5 separate regions of the Homo sapiens genome follow, and all the other regions are linked to region 5. The links are contacts of gene promoters, found by promoter capture Hi-C in blood cells and fetal thymus (Javierre and others, 2016). All regions are on one chromosome and are shown on one strand. The core of a region is centred on a gene start or on the middle of the fragment in contact, and the rest is flanking DNA. Distances in the headings are between cores, read along the strand shown. Region 1 overlaps NIN (ninein). Region 2 holds the start of POLE2 (DNA polymerase epsilon 2, accessory subunit). Region 3 overlaps NIN (ninein). Region 4 overlaps NIN (ninein). Region 5 holds the start of SOS2 (SOS Ras/Rho guanine nucleotide exchange factor 2).

Region 1 (2,700 bases), core at 95-2,594, 570 kb before region 5:
TAAACATCTGCATCTTGTGTGGAGGTTCCAGGAGAGAGAAGTAGTTGGGGAGGGAGGTGCTAATTGGAAAGGGCTTAGTGCACACAGAAGTGTGGTGCGGCTGCTTGCTGGTGATGGCCCTAGAGGCAGGGAGTGCACTGGGAAGCAAAAGGAAAGGCAGATCATGTCAGAAAGCTTCTGCTGATGCCTTTTTAATGTTTAACCTTTCTTGGCCTCCCCTTCTCCCTTCCCATCCTTGAGACGTTCCCCTCCCAACTCCCTTCTTTCCTCCACCCCAGCTCATCTCTCCCCTCCTCCTCCTCAGTCTCCCACTCCACTCTTTCCCTTCCTGGTGGTCTTCCCACATCTATATCTCTTGCTCCCCTTCCCCACCCCTCCATAGGCCTCTAGGTCCCTATTATCTCCTGTTTCCCCACCCACTTCTTTCCCTCTCTTGGTCTCAGTCTCTGTCTCATTCTCTCTCCATATCTGTCTCTCTGTGTCAGTTTCCACTGGTCTCTGTCTGTATTTTTCTTGGTCTTAGTGTTCCTTTGGATTTTCTTCCCTTCTCTTATTTAGAATCAGGCGTGGGTTTGCATTTTCACTGTGTAATCCCTGTGTGATGGTGCATTCAGCATAGGCGAGGAGGTGGGATGTAGAATGGGGCAGGGTGGGGCTCATTTGCTGCATGACTGCCTTTTCCCAAGAAAGCTTCTTGGGGATGCTGGCCTTGAGGTTTGCACATGCTTCATTTTTTACCTTTCCTTTTCAAACGGATTTCAGCATTCCTGTGAGCTCAGCAGCAATGTAACATGAAGGGCCTCCTGTGCTGAGGTTCTTTGGATGGGGGTGGTGTCTCTGGGAATGATTTCCCAGGCTCACTAAATGAGTCAGGAAGGGACATAGAAAGCAAAGTCCTATGCGAGCAATTCCAAAATGAGAATACCAGCACCCTAACGACAGGGTTTTCTTCTTCATCCTTGGAAATGGCCTCAGGTCATTTTTGGGAACAGGGAATTTTTTGATTCAAAAAACAAGTTAAAATATCCATCTTCTTCCTCAATAGGTACAACGTAATGTTTTGCCTATGGCAGGTGTTTGGTAAATACGCTTATGTGTTAAATGAATCTGCCTAACACTGGGGAGCATCTTTGAAAAATCTCCTTTAACTTCCAGGAAGCAGCTATGGCTGCCACTCCATTCCAGGTCCTGAGCTTATGTTTTTGCAAAGAAAGCATTCAATTGAATATATAGTGTTCAGGCTTTTGCATAATGATTTTAGCTTCCCTTAGGTCCTCATTGCTTTGGCTTTGGCTGTTCATGCAGTGGTTTTAGGAGAGCTGAGCATTTTAAGCAGTGACCTGTATCACATCTGATGCAGATGTGGTGATCTGGTGCAGTGGTCAGTTTTAGGGGAGAGCTTTAAAAAGTGTACTCTGTATTGCTTGAAACCTGGAGTAGGGGAGGCTGTGTTTCTCCCCTCCACACTGCTGCTGGGAAAGGAACTGGGAGAGGAATGAGGCGGGTGTTTGTTATTTCCCCTGGCTGCAGCTGGCTTATCTACTCTGAGTGGTCATTCTCCCTGACACCATATTTTAACTTTCTTTTTATTATGAGTGCAAGACCTCTGGTCAAGCATCATACATGTGCATGGTGGTTTATCCTGATTTGGAAGGGGAACATTATCGAAGCTCTGGAGTTTCTCTTCTTGGGACAGATGAGATGTGAAATAACAAATGTGGCGTGTGAGCAACCCAGCTGTCATTTCTAAGGCCCGAAGGCATAGTATTTTCTTCATCTTTTTAACTCTCGAATCAGATGTTTTCCCCACGTGCTCTGTAGAGACTGTCACTCACTTCCACATTACTCCAGTGGAGGGTTGAAGCAAGGTTTCTCTACTGTCCCCTGCTCATAACCAAGCATTTGGCTTATGGAATAAAACCTAGATCATTAAACTAGGTCAGGTTGGACTGCCTCAAAGCCACCTTCCTCTGATTGGTGTGTCTCATAATAAGCTTTCCAGGGATGGGGTCTGAGACACCTCCAGGCAAGCTGGGCTTGTCTGCTTTCCTTTGAAGCCCACTTTAATTTTTGTAGTGATGCCAAATAGGAGAAATGGAAAATGGGAAAGAAGGAAAAATGACTCAGAAGCTTAACAATCCAGGGAGAATCATAAATACACTTTCAAGGAACTCAAACACTGAAACACTGAAAGCATGGCAGTCATTTATACTTTGTTTTGATAGCATTTCTTTTTGTTTTGTTTCGTTTCTGTTTTTGAGATGGAGTCTTGCCCTGTTGCCCAGGCTGGAGTGCAGTGGCGCAGTCTCGGCTCACTGCAGCCTCTGCCTCCTAGGTTCAACCGATTCTCCTGCCTCAGCCTCCCAAGTTTCTGGGACTACAGTCACGAGCCGCCACGCCTGGCTAATTTTTGTATTTAATAGAGTCCAGGTTTCGCCATATTGGCCAGGCATTTCATGTCCCTTCTTGGAGCTGGTGATTGGAGCAGATACTCTCACCTGTGGAAGCTCTGTGATGTCAATAATTTCGTTTCTTAATAAACCAAAAGCCTCCATGTTATCTGACATAGATAAGATTATTCCAGAATGACACCCTGAAAAATAAAGGTTCCATCTGGATGTGCTCAGAAAGTAAATAAACGTAGCCCCAGGGTTGCAGTTTTGGATCTCTTCCATTAGGCATGGTCAGAAAGGGTCAAGG
Region 2 (2,700 bases), core at 171-2,670, 540 kb after region 5:
TCCCGGGTTCAGACAATTCTCCTGCCTCAGCCTCCCGAGTAGCTGGGATTACAGGCATGCGCCACCATGCCTGGCTAATTTTTTTGTATTTTTGTAGAGACGGGGTTTCTCCATGTTGGTCAGGCTGGTCTCGAACTCCTGACCTCAGATGATCCGCCCACCTCGGCCTCCCAAAGTGCTGGGATTACAGGCGTGAACCACTGCGCCCGGCTTTTTTTGTTTTTGAGACAGAGCCTTGCTTTGTTGCCCAGGCTGGAGTGGTGGCACGATCTCGGCTCACTGCACCCTCCGCCTCCGAGGCTCAAGAGATTCTCCTGCCTCAACCTCCCCAGGAGCTGGGATTACAGGCGCGCGCCACCACGCCTGGCTAATTTTTTTTTTTTTTTTTTTTTTTTGGTAGAGACGGGGTTTCACCATGTTGGCCCGGCTGTTCTCGAACTCTTGGCCTCAAGTGATCTGCCAGCATCGGCCTCCCAAAGTTCTGGGATTACAGATGTGAGCCACCGCGCCCGGGCCCAGAGGTTTTTAAAATGCAAAAACAAATACATATACTTTTGTTTCCCTTCCTTCATTAAACTTCGCTTTTTTTTAAAAAAGAAAAAAACCCGTATACGTTGGAGGTCACTTTATATTGGTACTGTGAAATCATCCTCCTGTTTTATAAGCCGCGTGTTTACTTATAAGCACTCCACGGGTTAGTCAACTCATTGGAGCAAGCGTTTTGAAGTGTGGCAGATTGACAGTCCACCTGAAATCAGAATAACTGAGTTCAAATCCTGACTACACCATTTAACTCGTCGTTTCATCTTGAGCAAGTCCTTTACCATTTTTGTGTCTCAGTTTTCTCATCTGTAAAATGAGGCTGTTGTGGAAAAGACAGTAGACAGCTCACTGGGCTGTCATGAGCAACACATGAATTCACACATTTAAAGTGCTTATGACAGTGCATGGCGCATACGAAGCCCTCAAGTTAAATAAAAATCGGGGTAGGTGGGAGCGATGGAGATTTATAACAGCTTCCGGTAAATGTCGAGGCACAGTATTTCCAGAGCTTGTGCGAAGTAGGGAACCCAACAGCTCTCATGGCCTCGAAAGAAGGGGGATCCTGTGTCCGGGAAGCTCGGCCGCAGTCCTGCAATGTCTAGGGCAGCGGTGAGAGCGCTGTGGCTGGCTCAACGCAGCCCGACACCAGGGAAGACGCTCTGGCCCTCAGTTTCCCGGCAGCAAAGGAGCGCGAGGTGGTCTCCACTTTCAGCCTACTCGGTCCGGGGTTGCGAACTGTAAGGTCTGAGTTGCTGCGGCGCAGGCAGCGGAGACCAAGCAGGGATCTTAACAGGGTTTAGCGCCACGCGGGCCAGGGCCGAGGCCGGAGCTGGGAGGGGCGCGCCCGGGAAGGGGCGGAGCTGCGGCGGTGGCGCCAAATCGCAAATATGGCGCCGGAGCGGCTGCGGAGCCGGGCGCTCTCCGCCTTCAAGTTGCGGGGCTTGCTGCTCCGTGGGTGAGTGGGCTCGGGCAGCTTGAAGGGCGAGAGGGAAGAGCTGGGGCCCGTCTGCCTGGTGCGGCAGCGGGACGCACCGCGGCGGCTCCCCGCGCGCCGAGAGGGGGCTTGACCTTAAATTTCAGAGTTCTAAGAAGCGGTCGGGCGCGGTGGCTCACGCTTGTAATCCCAGCACTTTGGGAGGTCGAGGCGGGCGGATCACGAGGTCAGGAGATCGAGACCATCCTGGCCAACATGGTGAAGCCCCGTCTCTACTAAAAATACAAAAATTAGCTGGGCGTGGTGGCGCGCGCTTGTAGTCCCAGTTAGTTGGGAGGCTGAGGCAGGAGAATCGCTTGAACCCGGGAGGAGGAGGTTGCGGTGAGCCGATATCGTGCCACTCTACTCCATCCTGGCGACAGAGAGAGACTCCATTAAAAAAAAGTTCTAAGAAGCGAGGTGGATCTTGAGGCTGCCGTGCCTTCTTTGGTTTCCCCGACCCATGCGAGGAGTTTAATGTTTCTTCTAGGCGGGCCGAGGCTCTTCTGCACATGTCAAACTGAGCCCGAGAAGCTGCAACCTATCTATGGCAGCCGGTTATCAACATTGTGACCTGGACAGCTCTCAGGCTCCCGGGAAGGTTGCTGAGACATAAGATGAGAGACCCGAGAAAGCCCACTTGCACGTCTGCAGTTGCCAATTTATGTGAAAGTCAGGTTTCCTGGGCATATCCGTGTTTTTGAGGACCTATAGAACATATGAACCTTCCCAAGATTTCTCTCATTAAATCTGCTCCGTGTTTTAGAGTTCTATATGTACGTGTGTGTGTGTGTGTGTGTGTGTGTGTGTGTGTGTGGTGTGTGTGTATATATATATATGTATTTTTTTTTTTTTGAGTCATGGTCTCACTCTCGCCCAAGCTGGAGGGCAGTGATGCGAACTTGACTTACTGCAGCCTCAACCTCCTGGGCTGAAGTAGCTGGGACTGCAGGCATGGGCCACCATACCTGGCTGATTTTTTGTTGTTGTATGTTTTTTAGAGACGGGGTCTGGCTATGTTGCCCAGGCTGGTCTTGAACTCCTGGGCTCAAGTAGTCCTCGCGCCGTGGCCTCCCAGAATGCTGGAATTACAGGCGTGAACCACTGCGCCTGACCTAGAACACAATATTTTATACATATTGAAATACCTGCTGGATTGGATATACCTCTCTGTATCAGTTTTT
Region 3 (2,700 bases), core at 166-2,665, 520 kb before region 5:
TTGAAGCACATGCTGATAACCCATAAACAGTGCAAATGGTCAGGCACCATGGCTTAAATGCCTGCAATCTCAACTGTTTGGGAGGCCAAGGCAAGAGGATTTCTTGAGGCCAGGAGTTTCCAGGCAAGCCTAGGGAACATAGCAAGACTGCCTCTACAGAAAAATAAAAAAATGTTTGCTGGGCGTGGTGGTGCACACCTGTGGTCCCAGCTACTTGGGAGGCCGAGGTGGGAGGGTTGCTTGAGCTTGAGAGGTCAAAGCTGCAGTGAGCCATGATCATGCCATTGTACTCCAGACTGGGTGACAGAGTGAGACCCTGTCTCTTTTAAAAAAAAAAAAAAAAAAAAAAAAAAAAAAGAGACAAAACAAACAGTGGAAATTTATCTTAGAACATATAATTTGAGGAGCCTCCAGATTCTAATAAATATGCTTGAAAAGCAGAGATACAAGTAGAATTAATTTGAACCACTGCCCACTTGACATTGTAAAATATAATTGCATAGTCTTCTAGCAAATTTGGTTTTTCAAAAAAAAAAAAAACTTGTAAACTATTACAGGACGTCTGAAATGTCTCTGAAATAATTTAATTCTGAATGTAGTTTTTCCTCTTCTTCAGACCATTTTTAGTCCTAAAAATCAGAATATAATGAGATGAATAAAATCACAAAGTAAACAGTGTACATATTTCATTGTGGCCCTTTGATTTCAATAGAGAATTTTCTTTCCCTAGGTACCCAGGGGCCTAAAACTAAGCTAATATAGCTTTGTAACATGGCTTATGTGTATTCAGAACAGGTAGGACTTGAGACTGAGATAAATGAAGACATTTGCTCAAAGCAGTATGCTTGCCATTGAGAAAAATCAACAACCAGAATGAGCATTGAGTCTTGATTCATTTCTCCAGGCTTAAGGGTTTTTTAGCTACACTTCTCTAACATCTTTTAGTGAAATTCTTACTTCCCAAAAGAAATGTGTCAATATGTCATAACTCGATTTCCAAATACTAAGAGACTACTAATTTAGACTTTTCTTTTTAACTGGCATTGAATACTCATCCTTTTGGAAGTTACTAGAAAATATTTTCCAAAGATGCCAGATGACTGCCTTGTAACAATTTTTTTCAATCTCTGTGCTTCAGATATGAATCTGAAAAGCTTCAACAGGAAAATTCTATTTTGAGAAATGAAATTACTACTTTAAATGAAGAAGATAGCATTTCTAACCTGAAATTAGGGACATTAAATGGATCTCAGGAAGAAATGTGGTAAGACGTATACTTACATTTTCCTAAGACATTTTTGCAAAGACTAAAATTCTTTTACTTCAGCTTTTAAAGCCTAACCATTAAATTTTATTTTCATCATTCCTTTTAGGCAAAAAACGGAAACTGTAAAACAAGAAAATGCTGCAGTTCAGAAGATGGTTGAAAATTTAAAGAAACAGGTAAGGAAATACTTAATATTTCTCAATGTTTTTTGATTCCAAAATTTTCCCATTTTTTGAAATTTATAAATTTACAGCACACGGTAATGAATAGCATATAGCTAATGATGGTAAGGTTGTAAATTCTGAATTTGAAAATGGAAACTTACCTCATACTGACTCTAAACTAGCTTCCTGTTTTATGTTAAATAATGTATATATTATTCTAGGCCCTAAGTGCTTGATAAAGCTTTATCATCAGCAGAATTGAGGAGGTGATACCTCTAAAACCATACCTACGAAATATTAGCTGTAGCCCTTGTGCAGTTTCAGTTAATGTTAGCCCTTCCTTTTTCCTCACCATGATTGAAAGCAGAAAGTTAAGGGCAGAATTTCACATATACAGAATGCCAGCTAATCAGCATATCATTTCACAGAATTACATTTTATTCAGATAGCTGGTGCCATTCAGTGCTCAATTTGTATAATCTTACAACATGCAGTTATAAAAAGGGAAGGCCATTTAAGAATCTGTCTGAAGCAGTCAAAAGACAAGGACATATTGGGAAAGAGTATTTTCAGCACTTGAAATAGACAAGGTGTTAACATCCAAAATGTATTTTGGACTCTTACAAATAAATGGGAAAATCCAGTTGAAATATAGGCAATCTATATGAATGGTCAAGTCACAGAAAAAAAAAAGAATACAAAAGATGGTTAGCCTTATTAGTGATTAGAGAAGTGCAAATTCAATAAGCGTCTTTTTTTTAACCTATTGAATTAGCAAGAAGTAAAGATTGATATCTAGTATTTAAAAGGATGTGAGGAAATGACTGTGCCCATGCATTGTTGTTAGGATTATAAGGTGGTAGCACTGTGAGGAAGACATATTAGAGATATCTGTTGAAACAATAATGAATATATATCTATATACAGATCTTCTAACCCAGCAATCCTACTTCTAAAAAATAATTCTAAATACAAAATACTACCATGTATAAATGGATTTTCTAAAAGATCCATTTAAAAGAAATAATGATTTTAAAAACTTTATGTCTATCAACGTGGGAACAGATAAATGCATTATGGAATATCTTACTACATGGAATATCCTATAGCCAGTAAAAAGTAGTATGTGGTGGTTGCTGAACACACTGACTTGGAAAGAGTCTTTTTTCCTTTTGAGACGGAGTTTCGCTCTTGTTGCCCAGGCTGGAGTGCAATGGCGCAATCTCAGCTCACTGCAACTTCTGCCCCCTGGGTTCAAGCGATTCTCCT
Region 4 (2,700 bases), core at 100-2,599, 550 kb before region 5:
CAGCCCACTTCACAGCCCTCTGTGGATTAACTGTACTTAAGTGTAATTACAACCTGTTCTCTAGGTTGAAACGCCACAGCAGTAATGGGCTTAATTCCTGTCACTAAAGAGTGGGAGTAGCACTAAATACTGCTTTCAACCCTCTGAGGTTCTTCCAAGCACACAAAATTGTGCCAGTAATTATCTCATGTTTAAGTAATGACTTTACAGAATCTCTAATGTGTAAAGCAAAATTTAGAAGTGAGGGCTTTTAATAGAGAATAAATAAGAAGTTTTGATTTTTAAATAAGTAGTTTGATCCTTAAGTCTTCAAATGAAATTTAATGTATAGATAACTGGGAACTTATAGCTTGCAACCATTGATTTTTTTTTTTTAATTTCAGTTGGACTGTTGGTTTCTGTATGTCAGAATATTCATATGTAAGGATTTGGGAACAGGCTAATGTTGAGACTTTTATCATGAAATTATTTTCTTTTCAGTAAAAGATGCTGTAGTACTTAGGCTGGAAAGAAAGTGGAGGTAATACATTCTGGTAGCTATAGTTGAGATAGAGCTTACAGAGTTCTCGATAATGGCCCTCAACCAGCCTTCTTTCTCTATGATCACTATAGCCTAAGCTTGTGATGTGCTCAGCTGAAATAAAACAAGCCTAGAACTTTGCAGTATTGCACAGGAGATTATATTTATTACACCGGTATGACTGTCAGGGAGCCAAAAAGTACCCATTTACTCTAGTTGCAGCCTTAGAACCATTGATTCTGTTTCATGGGAGCTTCAGGACCAAATCAAAATGGAATTGACATTTATTGCCTTTTTCTTACAGTATTTATTTTCAAAAAGCACAGTTTTCTTTAAGAATAGGCACTCTCTCTTTGCAATTCCTTTGGAAACCGTGCAACATATGCTTCTCTCTCAGGCCAGTTAAGGTTTTGGAACCCAGATGACTTGAATGCTTCACAGAGTGGATCTTCCCCTCCCCAAGACTGGATAGAAGAGAAACTGCAAGAAGTTTGTGAAGATTTGGGGATCACCCGTGATGGTCACCTGAACCGGAAGAAGCTGGTCTCCATCTGTGAGCAGTATGGTTTACAGAATGTGGATGGAGAGGTAAGCCTCGCAGTATAATTCAGGAATGATAATGATGGTAAAAGTGTAGTTGACCACATGCTAGGAACAGCTGTAGTGTGGCTCTCTGCAGCTTGTTAGGCTCCATTTTCTTTTTTCCTAAGAAGTCATTCATGAAGATTCTGTCACTGAGGAGCTCTTGTTGTGTTGTGAAAAAGAAAAACTGACAAGAGCTGACACTTACCCAGCTATTGTAAGCTCACTGTGCTAGGCAGGTTACCCCATGTGAAACTGTCAGGCACTAGCTCTCTGTAGCCATGATGTCAGATGTATTTGTAGAGGTGCCATTCACAGAGTAAATTGTGGGAAACATGTGGAGGCAGAATTAAGCAAGGATTTCAGTAGATTTGAGTTGGGGGAGTATTTTGAAGACCAGAAGGATAAATTTAAGTTTTTGGAAAGAACATCTCAATATCATCTCTGAGTTCTTAAGCAGATTGAGCAATATATAGAAAAATCTTGCTTGCTGACGAGGAGCTAAACTGCTTTTACATATTAGCATGAAGAGAGCCTTGGGTGAGAGCAGCCAGCAGCCATTACAATATTCTGGTCATGAGAAAATGGTAAAGGGTAGTTTGGTTGTTTTGAAAATACTAAGAAGAGTTTTGAAGGAGCCCCCAAAAGACTCTTCTTTGGTAAAACTCTGAGCTTTATGTTTTCTAAAAAATTAAGGGAGGAACTGGTAGGACTGGGTGCATGAATAGCTGTGAAACATAAGAATAGAAATAATTCTAAGATGTGCCTTTCAACGAGCTGAAAATAAGGATTGGAGAGAGTTAGGGTAGGGCTACAGTTGTCGCTTTGGGAATCTTTGATTATAATGATATTTGAAACCATGCTTTCTGCTTGCTCGGGGGATAAGTGGTATTATTTTTCTAAACAGATAATAGAAATATTTGTTTAGTGGTATTTTTCTAAACAAATAATAGCTTTTGATTTATTTTCAAAAGCTTTCAAGTAGCCTAGCTTACAGAAAATTTTTTTTGTTGTTTTCCCCTTCTTTCCTGTATTTTTGACCATTATATACCCTTTGTTTACCTTTGTAATGGCTCAGTGGTAATTTATTTTTCATTGGTGACTATTAAGTCATAAAATTAAATTTATTCTCCTGAATTGTAAATCAGTGCAATATGTAGAACCTTGGGTTGTTTTTGCCAAAAAATATTGCACAAACTTGGATTATTTATCTAAAACCAATTCTTGGAATAAACTGTAGCTACTTGTGGAGAGCTGCATGTTCTTCTGTGGTGGTTTCCAAAGCTCAGGAAAAGAAGTAGCACATTTAGTTATTTTCCTCTGGCCTGAGGACAAGTAGAGGATTGCTCATAGAATATAACTTTTACTTAGTGTTTTTCCTGCTAAAGAAAAATAGTGAAATTCTATAGTACTTAGTATTACTAGCTCTAAACCACAGAGGAGCTGGAAGTTCAAGATGATCTCATTTACTTGGAATCCTAAAATTTTACAACTGAACGCCATTTTAGATTTAGTCACCTCTCATTTTATAGGTAGAGAGAGTGAAATCGTGGCTGTTCCCTGCTTTCATGAAGGGGAACTAGAGTCACTGTCTTATG
Region 5 (2,700 bases), core at 144-2,643:
TGATTTAGTGGATACTTTAGTGGATTAGAAAAATAATCTTATTTTCCAACTCTGCCATTCTGATTTTGCCCAAATGAAAAAGTGGTGCATGTTTTGGGGAGAATAATTGCTCAGCTACTGATGCCGGAACTGAATTGTAGTACTGACTTATTTTTTGTACCCTGTTCGTCTTTTCCCTTTCTCACTGCTGGTGGCTAGGGACAGGGAGTAAAATATCTTCTTTACAACCTGTTAAAAGTAATGTGCTCAGCCTCTTTAGTGGGATGAAATTTGTGGTAATGAGTTACCAGAGCCTATGCCTCTTTGGATTGAAAAGCTTGTCAGGATCTTTTCTGGGTTGCTAATGAGTGTTTCCTAGACGCCGATCCAGGTTTTGTAGGACCTGAAGCCTACACAATTTGGATGACACGATTAAGAAAACAATTCGAAAATATCTTGAAAGTTTTGTAAAAACGATATGATTTTGTGAACGCACAGGGGCCCGTGCAAGTGAAGGACCTTTCAATTCAAGCTTGATCAACGTCACTGTCATCTGCCCCTTCTGACCCTACCACCAGGCTAAGGGCTTTCCACGCCTCATCTCTCGGTCCCCACACCATCACCCTAAGAAATAGTTACTGTATCTCCTAACGATATATTATATATAGTACCTACTTTGTGTAAACATACGGTACTCATGAAAACAAGCCACGTAGAGCACAAATACGTTAAATATCCTGTCCAGCCCGAATGCCCCTTTCTCTCCACGTCCCTATGCAGCCTCCCACGACGGTAGTCCTGGGGCTCCAGCGCTACAAGAGTGGCACCGAGTCCGGATTGTCTTAAGCAGGTCGAGAGGAGGGAGCATATGGGTAAAAAGCAGTCAAACTGAAGAGTCTGGAGCGGCCCCCAGCACAGTCTCGGGAAAAGCGGACTCCCCCGGGGCCCCAGGCCCCGCACCCCCGCGCCGGGCTGGCGCCTGTGCCTGCTCCGCGGCGCGCATGCTCCGTGTTAGGCCTCTTGGGCTATTCGGGATAATGAGCGCCGGGCCGAGGGGGCGGGCCGAGCCTCGGCTGCTGGGACTCAGGGCTCAGCGGCGACCCCAAGGCACTCTGCGCTGCTGCTAAAGGGGCAGCAACGGCGGCCAGCGCTGTGCGCGCCATAGCGAGGCTCGCTCGCCCGACGCGCACTCCGGGTCGGTCCCCAGAGCTCTGTGGAGGTGACTCGAGTGGGCAGGGCCGGGCGGCGCTGTCGGCTGGGAGGGCGGGGAGGAGGCGATGAGGAGACGAGCAGCCGCCGCCGCCGCCGCCGCTGCTCACCGCCCGCCGCGGCCGTAGCGGGAGTCGGGGCGGGGCTGGGCCAGCTGTACCCCTGACGGGCCGCGAACCCAGACAAAGGAGGAGGAGCCGCCCCAGAAGCGGGCCAGCGCCGCCGGGAAAGGAGGTCGCCGCCCGGGGTCGCCCGGGCTTGCGGGTCGCCGCGCTTCCTCTGCGGGCGCTGCGGGAGGCGAGGGCCGCCTCGGCGGAGGAAGCCGACCCCGGGGTCTCCGCCAGCCCGCCGGCGCCGCCTCCGAGCCGCCTCGGCCGTAGCCTCGGCCCGGGCGGGAGGCGGCGGCCGCCGGCGAGGCGAGGCGGCCCGCGCCCTGCCTGTCAGGCCACCGGCCCGGCCCGCGGGCTGCCCCCGATGCGGAGGCGCTGTCGCCGGGGCCATGCAGCAGGCGCCGCAGCCTTACGAGTTCTTCAGCGAGGAGAACAGTCCGAAATGGCGGGGACTGTTGGTCTCGGCCCTGCGGAAGGTCAGTGCTAGGGGCGGGGCGGCCGGCGGGTGGCCCGTGGCCCCCCGAGCTTCTAACGGGGAGCAGGTCGTCCCTCCCACAGGGCTCGAGTCCCCGGGGCCGAGCCGTTTCTCGTTGGCTGGCAATGGGGGGCTCACAATTGCCTGTTGCATTCTGAAGGACGTTTCTCAAGTTTTTTTTTTTTGCCTGGTCCCGGAAGGAAGGTTTTGTTATGATCATAAAACTGGATTTCATGTTGCAGTCATTTCGTCAGGCAACTTCCGCCGTTGACCAATTTGTTGTCCTCAGGCTGGAATCGGGCAAGAGAAAGTCCCGCTGGTATTTAGACAGTTTCTAAAACAAAAGCACATTTTCAGGCCGGGTAATTACTTTTAATTAAGTTCTTTGGGAGTGTTCCCCCTAGGCGGTTTGCTTGTCAAGGGTATCCACTTATGAGGCAATGGTTTTTTGTAATATGGATGTTTCACATGTGTGAAATGTCAGTGAGTCATAATATTCTTATTCATTTTACAGTTCTCAAGGTAAATTTAAAGCGCCTTCCCACTTCCTGCAAACGGTGTCTTACCTGTTTACAAGAGATTACCCTTAGAAAATTTGGTCAGTGTCTTCAGTGTCTTCACGACCAAATTGCGATTTAGGACTTGAAATCATTTTAAGGAACAAGAAAGGGGCAACTCCTGCAAATCAGTCTTTCATGTTTGGGTGCATTGCTAGGGTGCATCTTTCCTGTAGATGGTGGCGGTCTTCCTCTGTGAATTTAGGTAGTAACCATACGATCATTTTTATAATAAATCCTTCTGTAAGATCAAGACATTTAAAGACTGTGAATAGGTGCGTGATCAGCTGTCATGCCTGTTGAGCAGGGGCTTTCTTTCTTTGCCGTTAATGCAGACTTAGTCTCTTCTGCCTTTTGTGCAAAATAACCA

What was found. Contacts are between HindIII fragments. The CHiCAGO score rates a contact against its expected background, and 5 or more counts as called.
Region 1: a fragment that was not itself captured here is called in contact with the fragment with the promoter of SOS2 in region 5 in 1 of 17 cell types (fetal thymus); the score reaches 5.8 in fetal thymus.
Region 2: a contact is called between the fragment with the promoter of POLE2 here and the fragment with the promoter of SOS2 in region 5, in 6 of 17 cell types (naive CD4 T cells, fetal thymus, activated CD4 T cells and 3 more). The highest score is 6.7, in naive CD4 T cells.
Region 3: a contact is called between a fragment that was not itself captured here and the fragment with the promoter of SOS2 in region 5, in 3 of 17 cell types (erythroblasts, total B cells and naive B cells). The highest score is 6.8, in erythroblasts.
Region 4: a fragment that was not itself captured here is called in contact with the fragment with the promoter of SOS2 in region 5 in 1 of 17 cell types (fetal thymus); the score reaches 5.3 in fetal thymus.

Annotation. Positions count from the first base shown.
Region 1 is chr14:50,795,537-50,798,236 of GRCh38, reverse strand. All of the region lies in intron 4 of NIN (ninein), which reads left to right. Among named protein-coding and RNA genes, the nearest start is that of NIN, 34 kb to the left of the region's middle. The HindIII fragment of the contact is 1,304 bases long and covers 693-1,996 here.
Region 2 is chr14:49,686,934-49,689,633 of GRCh38, reverse strand. POLE2 (DNA polymerase epsilon 2, accessory subunit) reads left to right here and starts at 1,420. Exons shown (of 19, transcript NM_002692.4): 1 at 1,420-1,498. The coding sequence starts at 1,431. RefSeq lists a silencer at 1,308-1,357 and enhancers at 662-1,421, 1,422-2,183. The HindIII fragment of the contact is 3,892 bases long and covers 1-2,700 here.
Region 3 is chr14:50,753,306-50,756,005 of GRCh38, reverse strand. NIN (ninein) reads left to right here. Exons shown (of 31, transcript NM_020921.4): 19 at 1,139-1,264; 20 at 1,374-1,443. Among named protein-coding and RNA genes, the nearest start is that of NIN, 77 kb to the left of the region's middle. The HindIII fragment of the contact is 518 bases long and covers 1,157-1,674 here.
Region 4 is chr14:50,775,357-50,778,056 of GRCh38, reverse strand. NIN (ninein) reads left to right here. Exons shown (of 31, transcript NM_020921.4): 7 at 918-1,108. Among named protein-coding and RNA genes, the nearest start is that of NIN, 54 kb to the left of the region's middle. The HindIII fragment of the contact is 1,458 bases long and covers 621-2,078 here.
Region 5 is chr14:50,230,271-50,232,970 of GRCh38, reverse strand. It overlaps SOS2 (SOS Ras/Rho guanine nucleotide exchange factor 2), which reads left to right and starts at 1,393. Exons shown (of 23, transcript NM_006939.4): 1 at 1,393-1,774. The coding sequence starts at 1,688. RefSeq lists an enhancer at 482-571 and a silencer at 722-1,801. The HindIII fragment of the contact is 6,352 bases long and covers 514-2,700 here.